Linked DNA regions of Homo sapiens: region 1 is linked to region 2. The links are contacts of gene promoters, found by promoter capture Hi-C in human tissues and cell types (Jung and others, 2019). All regions are on one chromosome and are shown on one strand. The core of a region is centred on a gene start or on the middle of the fragment in contact, and the rest is flanking DNA. Distances in the headings are between cores, read along the strand shown.

Evidence for each region. The method cuts DNA at HindIII sites, captures the fragments that hold promoters and counts their contacts. A contact is called where the count stands out against the background at its distance.
Region 1: a fragment that was not itself captured here is called in contact with the fragment with the promoter of CCDC8 in region 2 in 1 of the 25 tissues and cell types used here (dorsolateral prefrontal cortex).

Annotation. Positions count from the first base shown.
Region 1 is chr19:46,541,846-46,545,607 of GRCh38, reverse strand. It overlaps the pseudogene PPP5D1P. Among named protein-coding and RNA genes, the nearest start is that of PNMA8B, 48 kb to the right of the region's middle. The HindIII fragment of the contact is 3,360 bases long and covers 1-3,294 here.
Region 2 is chr19:46,411,079-46,415,355 of GRCh38, reverse strand. It overlaps CCDC8 (coiled-coil domain containing 8 subunit of 3M complex), which reads left to right and starts at 1,792. Exons shown (of 1, transcript NM_032040.5): 1 at 1,792-4,277. The coding sequence starts at 2,546. The coding sequence ends at 4,162. RefSeq lists enhancers at 1-84, 85-918, 2,585-3,418. The HindIII fragment of the contact is 10,715 bases long and covers 1-4,277 here.

The sequences.
Region 1 (3,762 bases), core at 365-2,864, 130 kb before region 2:
AGCAACTTTGAGAAGCAGACATCATTTTGAAATCCCATTCTACAGATAAGTGCGCTGAGGCTGCAGTAGCAAAGCTGGAGTTTGAACCTAGATCTGTGCGAGTCCAAAGGCTAAATTCTCTCTCTCTCTCTCTTTTTTTTTTTTTTTTTTTTGAGACAGAGTCTTGCTCTGTTGCCCAGGCTGGAGTACAGTAGTGCGATCTCAGTTCACTGCCACCTCTGCCTCCTGGGTTCAAGCGATTCTCCTCCCTCAGCCTCCTGAGTAGCTGGGATTACAGGTGCCTGCCACCATGCCCAGCTGATTTTTGTATTTTTAGCAGAGATGGGGTTTCACCATGTTGGCTAGGTTGGTCTTGAACTCCTGACCTCAAGTGAGCCTGCCTCGGCCTCCCAAAGTGCTGGGATTATAGGCACGAGCCACCACACATGACTCAAAGGCTAAACTCTTGAGAGTGGGCCATGCTGCCCCAAGAAGCTCCACTGGATTTATTTGAAGGTCCTTGCCAAATCAGTTGGGGAAAAAAAGGCAGATTCAGCCCATGGATCCTTAAGTACCACTCGAAGAGTGGCATGCTTTTCCCAAATGTCACCTTTTGTCTTTAAGGCAAAGGTGGTGCCAGATCTTCAGCTCTCATGTCTCCTGCACAAACTCTCCCAGGCGTGAGAAGAGACTCCACTCTGCAGAAACTCTGTCTCTAAGGGGGAAGTGACAGTCAGAGAAGGGAACAGGGATATTACTGAGGCCAGAAGGCCCCTCTCCCCTCAGTGAGGCCCACGCTCGTGCCCAAAGCCTGTCTGTCTTCCTAAATAATGCAGTGTGGAAGAGTAGAGGCTTTGCAGCCAAGCAGACAGGATTTCATAACCCTGGTTCCAGTACTTCCCAGTGTGTGATCTTGGACCATCAACTGGGCCTCTGAACCTCAATCTCCTCCTCTATAAAAGTGGCACAATGGCCGCAGGCGGTGGCTCACGCCTGTAATCCCAGCATTTTGGGAGGCCGAGGTGGGCGGATCACTTGAGGTCAGGAGTTTGAGACCAGCCTGGCCAACGTGGCGAAACACTGTCTCTACTAAAAATACAAAAATTAGCCGGGCGTGGTGGTGGGCACCTGTAATCTCAGCTATTCAGGAGGCTGAGGCAGGAGAATCACTTGAACCCAGGAGGCGGAGGTTGCAGTGAGCCGAGATAGTGCCATTGCACTCCAGCCTGGGCAACAAGAGCAGAACTCTATCTCAAATAAAACCCAGAAAACCAAAAAAAAAAAAAAAAAAAAAAACCCAAAACAAAACAAAAAGAAAAAACAAAAACAACAACAACAAAAAATGGCACAGTAATAGCTTAATTCCCAAGCTTGTTCAGGATTTTGTGGGTCAGGAATGTGAAAAGGGTTTGACTGGATGTTCATTTCTGTTCCACGTGGCATCATGTGATGAGGGCTGGAGGACCCACCTCCAAGATGGCTTCTTCACTCCCATGTCTGGAAGCTTCAATTCTCCTGGGCCTTCTCACAGCTCCATGCTCTTAGGGGAGCTGCAATTCTTTTTTTATTATTTATTTATTTATTTATTTGAGACGGAGTTTCGCTCTGTCGCCTAGGCTGGAGTGCAGTGGCCGCGATCTGGGCTCACTGAAAGCTCCACCTCCTGGGTTCACACCATTCTCTTGCCTCAGTCTCCCGAGTAGCTGGGACTGCAGGCGCCTGCCACCACGCCCGGCTAATTTTTGTATTTTTAGTAGAGACGGGGTTTCACCGTGTTAGCCAGGATGGTCACGATCTCCTGACCTCGTGATCCGCCGCCTTGGCCTCCCAAAGTGCTGGGATTACAGGCGTGAGCCACCGCGCCCGGCTGGGGAGTTGCAATTCTTACACAGTAGCCTGGGAGCCAAAGAGATCACGACGGAATCTGCTGGTTCCCTTAAAATGTAGATCCAGGCCTGGCGGTGTCACTTGTTTGTTTGTTTGTTTGTTTGTTTAGACAGGGTCTCGTTCTGTCACCCAGGCTGGAGTGCAGCGGCGCCATCATAGCTCACCGCAGCCTCTACCTCCTAGGCTCAAGGGATCCTCTTGCCTCAGCCTCCCGAGTAGCTGGGACTACAGGTGCGGGCCACCACGCCAGCCTATTTTTAAAAGTTATATTTTTGGCCGGGAGTGGTGGCTCACGCCTGTAATCCCAACAGTTTGGGAGGCGGAGGTGGGTGGAAGTCGGGAGTTCAAGACCAGCCTGACCAACATGGATATACCCTGTCTCTACTAAAAATACAAAATTAGCCACGTGCGGTGGCGGACCCCTGTCATTCCAGCTACTCGGGAGGCTGAGGCAGGAGAATCGCTTGAACCCAGGAGGCGGAGTCTGTGGTGAGCCGAGATCACGCCATTGCACTCCAGCCTGGGCGACAAGAGCGAAACTCCGTCTCACAACAAAACAAAAAAGTTATTTTTAGTAGAGTTGGGGTCTTTCTGTGTTGCCCAGGTTGGTCTTGCAGTCTTGGGATCAAGCGATCCGCCCACCTCTGCTTCTCGGTGTTGGAATTACAGGCGTGAGCCGCCATGCCCAGCACAGTGTCACATCTGTCATATTCTATGGGTCAAAGCAGTCAAGGGTTCTTTCTCAATCAGACTAAGACCAACAGGAACAAGCTTATTGTATTAATTTGCTAGGGCAGCCTTAACAGACAAGAAGGGAGGTGAGTCGCCTTTTAGTTTAAGTAGATACGGTCATGCTATTCTCTAATTGGCCACCAGATGGCGCGCTGGACTTACTATTAGTACAGTTTGTAATTGCCCTTCCGAGAGTGGCCACCGCCACTCAAGCGACTGGACACTGGACTAAGTGCTTCTGTTAATTTGGATAAGACAAGACTCTCACTTTCTTTGATAAAATATAAATCTAGAAGAGCCCTAGGCTTTTATTGCATCATGATCATGGAAGGAGAGAAATGATCCTTTTCTGATTTGCCAGAGAAAACCAACCAGTATTTATTCTTTAGGAAATACAGAGATGCTATTTAACCTCCTGGTCACCATAGCAACAAATAATCAAGGAAGACAACCAATCAGAATGCAGGTTTCTTTGGGAGGTTCTTTTTTTTTTTTTTCAGATATTGCAACAATTTCTAAAAAAATCTTAGACTCTTTTGTTCAAATTATCCTTTCAAGGAAAGACACAAATGAACAGAGTTAACAAATGAGGCTGGTAACAGGAAAATTAACTGGAGCTCCTGGCTGCACGGGAGAACAGAATGAATGTTTAGGGTATGTTCTCAATGTGCCACTCTATTAAAATTGATTTTTTTTTTTTTTTTTTTTTTTTTTGTAGACAGAGTCTTGCTCTGTCACCCAGGCTGGAGTGCAGTGGCGTGATCTCGGTTCAATGCAAACTTCGCCTCCCAGGTTCAAGCGATTTTCCTGCCTCAGCCTCCCGAGTAGCAGGGATGATAGGTGCCTGCCACCACGCCCGGCTAATTTTTTTGTATTTTTAGTAGGGATGGAGTTTCACCATGTTGGCCAGGCTGGTCTCAAACTCCTGACTTCAAGTGATCCGCCCTCCTCGGCCTCCTAAAGTGAAAAAACTAATTATTTAGAGCAATTTCATGATGCAGAATAGAACCCCTTCCTATACAGCTGCAAGAGAGAACGGGCTTTTTTTTTTTTATGTTTGAAAGCACTGACTTTGCTAAGCGTGGTGGCTCATGCCTGTAATCCCAACACTGGGAATCTGAGATGGGAGGACCACTTAAGCCCAGGAGGCCAAGGCTGCAGTGA
Region 2 (4,277 bases), core at 543-3,042:
CCAGCCTCAGTTTCACCGTCTGTAAAAAGATGATTGATGGCACTGGCCTTACCATGTACCTCTGAGGGTTCCTAACAACGAGGCCTATTCAACATGTCTCTGGATGCCTGGTTCCAAAGATGTGGACCAATGCTAGTCGCATGTCCTGTAGCAGGAGGAGCCACGGACAAAACCCCTCAGACACTGGGTTAAGGAAGGATTTGGCTTTTTCGGCCGGGAGCTTCGGCAGACTCGCCTCTCAACTGGCGGGAGCTTCGGTAGACTCGCGTCTCAAGAACCGAGCTCCCGGCCGAATGCGACTAGCATTGGTTCACATCTTGATTCTTTTTTTTCTTTCTTTCTTTCTTTTTTTTTTTTTGAGACGGAGTCTTGCTCTGTCGTCCAGGCTGGAGTGCAGTGGTGCGATCGCGGCTCACTGCAACCTCCGCCTCCCGGGTTCAAGAGATTCTTCTGCCTCAGCCTCCCGAGTAGCTGGGACTACAGGCACGTACCACCACGCGCGGCTAATTTTTTTGCATTTTTAGTAGAGACAGGGTTTCACCGCGTTAGCCAGGATGGTCTTGTCTTGATCTCCTGACCTCGTGATCTGCCCGCCTCAGCCTCCCAAAGGGCTGGGATTACAGGCGTGAGCCACCGCGCCTGGCCATCTTGACTCTTTGGTCGACACAAAAGGCAGACTATTCTGGATTCAAATCCAAACTCAACCACTCCCCATGGCTGTGACCTTGAGAGTGTGGTTTTATGTCCTTGGGCCTCAGTTTCCTCAGCTGTCTAATGGGAATTGTACTCATGCTACCAGTCTCCTGTTATAGCAAGGATTTCCTGAGTTCATTCATAGAAAGCACTGGGAATGGTGCCTACTACATAGGAAGCGCCTCATAAACCGTGCCTATCCTTAGCCATCTCATTCTTTTTTCGAAGTTGCAAAATATTTCACTGTAAGATACTACCATAAAATAGAGGCAGTCTCTACTCGTGAACTTTTAGGGTTTTTTGTTGTTGTTTATTTGTAGGGGTTTTTTTGCACTTTTGTTTTTTTGAGACAGTCTCCCTCTGTTGCGCAGGCCGGAGTGCAGTGGCGCGATCTCTGCAACCTCCACCTCCCAGGTTCACGCCATTCTCCTGCCTCAGCCTCTCGCGTAGCTTGGGACTACGCACGCGCACCACCACACCCGGGGTAGAGACGAGGGTTTCACCATGTTGGGCAGGCTGGTCTCGAACTCCTGGCCTCAAGTGTTCCACCCACCTGGGCCTCCCAAAGTGCTGGCATTACAGGCATGAGCCACCGCGCCTGGCCATGAACATTTGGGTTTATTCATCCCCTCAAAAATATGTATTGAGCCCTGACCTGCCAAGCGCCACAGTGGGACTGTTGCAGTCAGGTACCCATTTCTCTACCCACGCATATAGGTGTACGGGTACCGATAGTCGCGTGAATTTAAAATGCTAATCTGTGGTGCCAGTGGCTCTCAAAAAGTAGAATCCACTAGCACACCCACCTCCCGGACTTGGCTGGAAACTTGCACATTTCGGATGGCAGGTTTGGGAACCGCTGCCTTTCAGGAAAGGTGCTGACGTGGGCCACTGCCGCTTCGCTGGGAAGCAATGGGCCCAGCTAGGCCCGGGGCGCGGCCACACCCCTGTGGGGGAGGGGAAGGAGGCCGCCCCGAAGGGAGTGGACAGCCCCCCTGTCAGTCTTCCAGAGTCTGGGAGTGTAAGATGAGACGGGGGAAGGTGGGCCTCATTCTGGCGGAGGGCGAGGAGGAACTTCCTGCCCGCGCGCTCCACGGTGCAGAGCTCTAAGCGCGCGGGCTGGCAGGCTGCGGCGCGTCAAGGTCAGCCTGGAGCTGGGTGGCGGCCTGCCTGGGGGCGGGGGACCCTACTGGAGGCCCGGGCTGGGGCCTCCCAGCGCCTCGGCCATATTGAATAGCTTCGACTGGACCGTCTTTGTCTGCGAAGTCCTGTCCCAAGTTCCAGCCGCGTCCCTGGGGCCTGGGGCAGGAAGAGTCGCTGGCAGCCCGCGCGCCCCAACTTGGAGCTGGGACACCACGTTTCCAGCTTGGAGTGGGCCTTGAGCCTTGGGACTGACCTCGCCCCCGGCTCACGTAGGCATCCTGGAAATTGATTCCCCCAAGTCCTTGGTGGGGGAGCCGGACTTGGTCAAGACTGTACTTGTTGCAGGCGAAGAGATTGGAGGCGTTTGGCTCGTCCCTGGCTAGGGAGGTGAGACTCTCCGGTCAGCGTTGCTGGAACTCCCCCCATCCAGTCCCTCCCTCAAGACTAAGGGCTACAGTAGTTTGTTGGGGCTCATTGCCCCCTCACCCCAGATATCACCCTGGAGATCTTAAAGACTCTCGAGAAAAGCCACGTGGGGGGCTGGTTCCCCTGGGGCTTCCTGCCGTCCCCCGACTGCCTCATTCTTTGGAGCGTCCCCGATGTCTGCAAAGATGTGGATTTGGACGTCCTCGTGGAAGCCCTAAAGCCCGTGGGGACATTTAAGAAGATCGGCAAGGTGTTCCGCAAGGAGGAGGACTCCACGGTGGGGATGCTGCAGATCGGGGAGGACGTCGACTATTTGCTCATCCCCCGGGAGGTCAGGCTGGCTGGGGGCGTCTGGAGAGTCATCTCTAAGCCCGCCACCAAGGAAGCAGAATTTCGGGAGCGGCTGACCCAGTTCCTGGAAGAAGAGGGCCGCACCCTGGAGGACGTGGCCCGCATCATGGAGAAGAGCACCCCGCACCCGCCCCAGCCCCCCAAAAAGCCCAAGGAGCCCCGAGTGAGGAGGAGAGTGCAGCAGATGGTGACTCCTCCGCCCCGGCTGGTCGTGGGCACGTACGACAGCAGCAACGCCAGCGACAGCGAGTTCAGCGACTTCGAGACCTCCAGAGACAAGAGCCGCCAGGGCCCGCGGCGGGGCAAGAAGGTGCGCAAAATGCCCGTCAGCTACCTGGGCAGCAAGTTCCTGGGAAGCGACCTGGAGAGTGAGGATGATGAGGAACTGGTCGAGGCCTTCCTCCGGCGACAGGAGAAGCAGCCCAGCGCGCCGCCTGCCCGCCGCCGCGTCAACCTGCCAGTGCCCATGTTTGAGGACAACCTGGGGCCTCAGCTGTCCAAAGCGGACAGGTGGCGGGAGTATGTCAGCCAGGTGTCCTGGGGGAAGCTGAAGCGGAGGGTGAAGGGTTGGGCGCCGAGGGCGGGCCCCGGGGTGGGCGAGGCCCGGCTGGCCTCCACCGCAGTGGAGAGCGCAGGGGTATCATCGGCGCCAGAGGGCACCAGCCCGGGGGATCGCTTGGGAAACGCGGGAGATGTTTGTGTGCCCCAGGCTTCCCCTAGGCGATGGAGGCCCAAGATCAACTGGGCCTCCTTTCGGCGCCGCAGGAAGGAGCAGACAGCACCCACAGGTCAGGGGGCAGACATCGAGGCTGATCAGGGGGGAGAGGCTGCAGATAGTCAAAGGGAAGAGGCCATAGCTGACCAGCGGGAAGGGGCTGCAGGTAATCAGAGGGCAGGGGCCCCAGCTGACCAGGGGGCAGAGGCTGCAGATAATCAGAGGGAAGAGGCTGCAGATAATCAGAGGGCAGGGGCCCCAGCTGAGGAGGGGGCAGAGGCTGCAGATAACCAGAGGGAAGAGGCTGCAGATAATCAGAGGGCAGAGGCCCCAGCTGACCAGAGGTCACAGGGCACAGATAACCACAGGGAAGAGGCTGCAGATAATCAGAGGGCGGAGGCCCCAGCTGACCAGGGGTCAGAGGTTACAGATAATCAAAGGGAAGAGGCCGTACATGACCAGAGGGAAAGGGCCCCAGCTGTCCAGGGTGCAGATAATCAGAGGGCACAGGCCCGGGCTGGCCAGAGGGCAGAGGCTGCACATAATCAGAGGGCAGGGGCCCCAGGTATCCAGGAAGCTGAAGTCTCAGCTGCCCAAGGGACCACAGGAACAGCTCCAGGAGCCAGGGCCCGGAAACAGGTCAAGACAGTGAGGTTCCAGACCCCTGGACGCTTTTCGTGGTTTTGCAAGCGCCGGAGAGCCTTCTGGCACACTCCCCGGTTGCCAACCCTGCCCAAGAGAGTCCCCAGGGCAGGAGAGGCCAGGAACCTCAGGGTGCTGAGGGCCGAGGCCAGAGCAGAAGCTGAGCAGGGAGAGCAAGAAGACCAGCTGTGAGGTGAGGGCTAGAGACAGCCCACGGGCCCTCCCTCCAAGTGTGGGAGGGAGAGATGCTCTGCCTCTGAACTTCAAAGTGGAGGTGGAGTGCTGGCCACGTCTCCACCTAACAACC